Regions from separate parts of the Homo sapiens genome. Here region 1 is linked to region 2. Evidence: promoter capture Hi-C in human tissues and cell types (Jung and others, 2019). All regions are on one chromosome and are shown on one strand. Each heading gives the region's core, a stretch centred on a gene start or on the middle of the fragment in contact. The rest is flanking DNA. Distances are from core to core; before and after follow the strand shown.

Region 1 (2,867 bases), core at 18-2,517, 100 kb after region 2:
CTGTACTATTTCACTTAGACATGAAAGCCCTAATTTACAGTTCTATAACAATTATTTTATTAAACACTGACTTTGTGCCAAGCCTACTGGTTGCCTTTTTACCTGCTTTATTTCCTGTACCCCTTCTAATCATCCTGTCATGTGGTTAGCATTATAATTTCTACTTGACAGATGAGGGAATGGAGGCTCAGAGAGGGGGCATCCTTGTCCAAGGTCACACAGCTAGGAACTTGAAGAGCTGAGACTCCAGGCTCTCTGCCTTTAAAGCCTGAGTTCAATTTATCCACCTTGTAATTCTGCCACTAAAGTGTCCCTCAAGCTTAAAGAAGTATGAATCTGAGATTCCAAGATTCCAGTATGATAGAAAGTCAGGGCTTCTGTTGCACTGAGATAAGAATGTGAAAAGAGGGGCAGGGAGTTGAACTATGTGGGTGAGGACGGGAACAGTGTGTATTGTGGGGAAAAGGCTGGATTCGGGGGTGGTCTGGTCAGGAGGCTGACATCTTTATCCTAGTTTGTAACTATAGTTTGCTGGGTGACCTTGGGCAAGGCTCTTTCCATCTTTGGGTCTCGGTTTCCCTGTGTGTGAAATGAGATTCAATGTGATGACCTTAAGAGTTTCCCATTCCTGAAATTCTGACTCTGGGTCTATTGCCAAAGCAAAAGCCTCTGGGCCCTTGCCCCCAAAATCTTTGGATTCTAAAATGGCTAAGGGCCTGGATAAATGGAGGGAAAACCCAGAGAAGGTATAGAGAAGCTGCAGGGGCTGGCATTCCTAGAAATTAAGCAATGTTGGCCCAGCACATTTGCTTACCACGTGAGATGTTCCCACAGATGTTCTGAGTGGTGGGGCCTGGGGTAATGAAGAGGGAGATGTGTGATTGAGTCCTCCAGAATCACACCTGGGAGGCTAGGCAGTCACTCACCTCCTGATCCCATTTCCTCAATTCTGAATAAAATAATTATAATCATGAAGATATTTTTCAACCTCTTAGACTTGTAAAATCCTGAATTAAAAATTCAAATGCTTTGAGGACCCAGGCAGGTAACAGACCATAAGACCATAAGATACAAGGGGTGTCAGACAAGAGGACATTCAGGGGCAAGTAGTGTCCGAGGAAAAGGGAAGCTCCAGCTGATCATGCCATGAGAAATCGTGGACCCAGTCTTGATTTCTCAAGAGAAATGGGAAATTGGGATTTTTCCGTGAACTCTCCAAAATTTAACTACTAATTAAAATGTTTAAAAATAGTGTCAACCAAAGGAAACATATTTATTAGCCTGTCTTCTTTGTAACCTCTGGTTTAGCTCTTCAAATTGATAAGGTCTTTTCACACAGAAGATTTTATTACTAATTTAAACATAAAATGAAGCTCTGAAGAGAGAGAGGAGGAGAAAGCATACACAGACACTGCACACCTACCGTGTCCCCACAGGCCCTGTGTGAGTGTTTCAGGCATGTGATCTCATGTTACTCTGAAACCCTCCCCCCTGGTGACTATTGATATACCCATTTATCAGATAAGGAACCTTGTCCAAAAGTCACCCACTGAGGAAGTGAGGAAAGGTGATCAGTCCCAAACCTAGCTCTATCTTTTACACCACACACTGGCTACTTTGGGACATGCCAGAACAATATCTTTGTGCACAGAGAGATTGAACTCTGAGGGAACAGCAAACAGATCCTCTGGCGGGGCACGAAGCTGGCTGTGGCCTGGACACCAACCTGCAACTTCATCCCTCCCTTCCCTTTAAACTCTCTGAGCTGTTAAACTGCCCAGGGTTCTTAAGCTAATTAAAGTCCTAACCCTGTCCCCTCTGACCCTGTAGGCAGCAGAGCAGTAAGCCATGAATCCTGCTTTTCCTAATCTTGAGCTCAGTGGGCCCCAGCTTCACCCAGATAAGCATGGTTTGCTAAGCCAATTAGTGGGAGACGATCTGACATGGGATTCCTGCCAGGCTTTCGGGATCTGGGAACCCCAAAATGGGGAGAAAATTAGGCAATTGGGATTTAGGGGCCCTCCCTCTAATGCCCTCTCTATGCATAGGCCCAGACACTGCACTCTATGTCACCTAAGAAGCCCTGCATGACAGAGAAGTTCTGGAATGAGTTAGTGACCTATTGGAAGGAAATGTCAGGCTCTGGATTTCCCCTCTGGGAAACTACATTCTTGGCATAACGGTTGAGAGGGTTGAGAGCACGGACTCTAGATTCAAGTGTCCTCAGTTTAAATCCAGACTTTACTACTTCTTATATGTGACCTTGACAAGGCAAATAATCTCTCATCCGTTGTAAACTAGGGACCAAAATTGTACCCACCCGCCTCTTAGGTTGTTTCAAGGTTTAATGAGATAATGTGTAAGGGTTCAGCAAAGGGCTCATTCCATCGTTAAATGCTCAGAAACTGCTGGCAATGATTAGTGCATTAGCTTGGGCTTTGCTCCCTGTGGAACAAAGCTTTGTTCACGGAGCACATGGCAGGACAGCAAGGGGGTCCTGAAGTCCCTTGAAGCCATAATGACATGGCAGTCATTCATTTAATCTGCAGTCATTCATTCAGCAGACATTTATTAAGCACCTGCTGTATACCAGGCACTGTTCTAAGTGCTGGGAATAGAGTGGTGAACAAGACAAAGTCCTTGCCCTCTTGGAGCTCAATAGCCTAATGAAGGAACCAATAAGAAAATAAACTATGATATATATTATATGGGATATATAATACCTGGGCCAGATCGTGATAAGTGCTATGGGGAAAAAAATGAAACAGGGCAGGGAGCTACTGGAGTGCCAGGGAGAGGTGTGGCTCTTTGAGATAGGGTGGTCAGGGTGGACCTCTCCAAGGAGGTGGCATGTGGGCAAAGGGCTG
Region 2 (2,761 bases), core at 168-2,667:
GAGTTCCCAGCTTCCCCGCTAGAAGCAGCACCCGCAAACAGACCTCAACCCAGAACCTCAGGGCCAGAAGAGTGCTCAGCAGCTGGTGGACCTTTTGTGCTGAGGAGGAGGCTGAGGCTTAGCGCAGGTGTAGACTTGCTCAGGTCCACAGCCCAGGCCCCGAGCCCTTTGCTCTGGCCCTTTGGTCTGGTGGTAGAACACTGGGGAAGGCTGAATGGCGGGGAGGGATGTCAGTGTCAGGCCCCCATGCTCCCTCCATGTCCCTTCAAGCCTGGGGACACTCGCCTGCATGTGCACCCCTTGTCCTCCATCAGCCTTTTCCCCCTCCCAGCCTGGGGCCGCTTCCCTGCCCCCAACCCCATTCCTGAGATGCATGGGCCAGGGCATGAATGGTGGACACAGGCCTGAGACAGGCAGAGTGCCATGGCCTCGGGACAGAGTGGGCAGTGCTCACCAATGAAGTTTCCGAGGTAGAGTCCAGGAAGTACCTAGAGGAAGGACAGGCAAGGGTCAGTGGGGCAGGGGCTGCACCCCCTTCCACCCCCAGGGCAGCTGGGGGGCCCACAGCCCCTCTCTGTCCCATGAAGGGTATGGACCTCAGGGCTCAGGGAGCACTCTCTTCCCTTTTGTGGGCCCTGAGTCCTCTGTGAGAGGGGTCTGGGGCTCTGGGGAGGGTAGGCTAGGGGGCCAGTTAACCAACCGAGGGAACCAAGGGAGGCCAGCTTGGGTATGAGAGGGGAGAGGAGGAAGGCAGGTCTTAGGAGGAGAGGAGAGGAGAGAGGTAGACTTGCAGGGTGCAGGGATGGAAATTCTGGGGCTGGGGAGGCAGAAAGGCAATGACAGGCAGAGGCGGGACAGGATGGAGAAACAGCCCCGGAGAGAGCCGAGGAGTCAGCGACAAGGGAGAGGGACACATGCAGACGGAGAGCAGGACTCACTGGGAGACAGCCTGGGAGTGACAGCCACAGCAAGACAGCGAGAGACACACAGAGTCACGGAGAGAGGGCGGACACAGCGGGGACAGAGACGCAGGGTCAGAGAGGGGGAGACCCGACAGCCGCGGTCTCGAGTCACAGGGACACGGAGATGCCGCCGCACGGAGACCGGCGAGAACAGAAGGTCAGAGGCGGGCGGACCGAGCTGGTCAGCGCCGGGCCGCGGCGGCCGGGGCGGGGACCGGGGAGGCTGCGCGGGGCCCGCCCCCTACCTTGGTCATGCCATTGCCCATGATCCCGGGGGCGGCGGTCCGGGTGCACCCCCAGCTCGCCGCCCGGGAAGCGATCCGGTCACAGCTGCCCTGACGGCCCAGGCCCGACGCCTGCAGCCTGGCGGGGAACGGGGGGCCTGGCGTCCGCGGCCCTGCCCAGCCCTGCCCAGCCACCGCCACCGCCCGCCGACCCCCGGCCCGGGAGGGAAATGGTGGTGGAGCCGCCGCTGCCACCGCCGCCGCCGCAGGCTCCTCCTACCCCTTCGGTCATGTGGGGCCCCCGCCTCGGGTCGCGGCGGGGGGCCGGACAAAGCCCCAGTGTGCCGGGCCCACGGCCCGCGGGACAACGGCAGTTTGTTGGGGCCGCGTGGGGCCGCCACCTCCGGAGGTGGGGGCGGGGGCCTTACCCCACCCTGGCACCGGCAGGCGCGGGCGGATGGGGGGATGTCGCCTAGAGCCCCCCGGCCGGCCCACAAACTCCCGTCCCCCTTCCGGCTCTGCCTGGACGTCCCTGCGGGCCCCGGGGGAAAGCACCCAACTTCTCCCGCCTCGGCTTCTAGCAGAAACGTGACGGGGCTGGACTTTGATCGCCGAGGGCTCTCTGCTCTTCAGAGTCTGCTTGGAACGGGATAAGTGGGTAATTCCTTCCGATACATCCTCTCCACCCGTGCAGAGACACCCTACCAACCAGCCTTCCTCCTTTCCCATCCATTCTCCCACCCTCCTGTTCACTCATTCACTCGTCCATCTTCCCATCCATTCATCCATCCTCTCACTCCTTCCTTCCATCCATTTCGGCCCCTAGGAGGGATGGTGCCATCCAGGGAAGCTCTGCTGGGACCAGGCACAACTGCCATTAGGTGCCCCAAGAAATTACAGGTGAATGTTGGGAGAGGGGTTTGAGGGAGGGTTCCAGTCTGAAGGAGACTACATCAGGATGTATTAATAGCTAGAGGTCAGGGTCCTGGAAGGGGTCTGGAGACCAAGGTTTGAGGCCCTGTTCACCTCTGACCTGCTAGATGACCCTGGGAAAGTCCCCGTGACCCCCAGCTAACCCTATCTGTGTTTCTGAGGATGTTGAGGTGAGCCCTTCCTGGCTTCTAGGACCAAAGCTGGAGAATGTAAAATAATCAAGACACTTCCTATAGGACTGAAATAGAAGCAGCTGCACCAGCTTTGTTCCTTCAGCCATCACCCCCACCCCTCAATCTATAGTAGTAGGTGACTGGGGATTGTGGATAGAGAGCAGGACAGAGAGAATCCACAGAGCCCTTTGAAATACAGTGATTGGAGAAAAATAAAACTGTTTCTTCCTCCCTCAAGTTCATAGCATACATGGGGCTGCCCGTCTCAGCTCTCATAAAAGCCCAGAGTTCTCATAAATACCAAATTATTCAGTAAATACTTACTGAGCATCTAGTATATGATAGAGACTAGGGACACAGCAGTGGGTAGAGATTGTTCCTACCTTCATTAGCTAATGGTATAGACCAGCATTGTCCAAATGAAATATAATGCCAGCCACATGTGCAGCCACATTTAAAAAGTAGAAAC

What was found. Contacts are between HindIII fragments. The study calls those that stand out against the background at their distance.
Region 1: a contact is called between a fragment that was not itself captured here and the fragment with the promoter of DUSP15 in region 2, in 5 of the 25 tissues and cell types used here (H1 embryonic stem cells, IMR-90 fibroblasts, aorta and 2 more).

The regions. Positions count from the first base shown.
Region 1 is chr20:31,970,746-31,973,612 of GRCh38, forward strand. All of the region lies in intron 1 of XKR7 (XK related 7), which reads left to right. Among named protein-coding and RNA genes, the nearest start is that of XKR7, 4.0 kb to the left of the region's middle. RefSeq lists enhancers at 1,331-1,832, 1,833-2,332 and a silencer at 1,421-1,715. The HindIII fragment of the contact is 4,685 bases long and covers 1-2,867 here.
Region 2 is chr20:31,869,110-31,871,870 of GRCh38, forward strand. It overlaps DUSP15 (dual specificity phosphatase 15), which reads right to left and starts at 1,418. Exons shown (of 7, transcript NM_080611.5): 1 at 1,208-1,418; 2 at 455-488. The coding sequence starts at 1,228. TTLL9 (tubulin tyrosine ligase like 9) reads left to right here and starts at 1,525. Exons shown (of 15, transcript NM_001008409.5): 1 at 1,525-1,840; 2 at 2,013-2,086. The coding sequence starts at 2,018. RefSeq lists silencers at 1,065-1,334, 1,355-1,454. The HindIII fragment of the contact is 13,568 bases long and covers 1-2,761 here.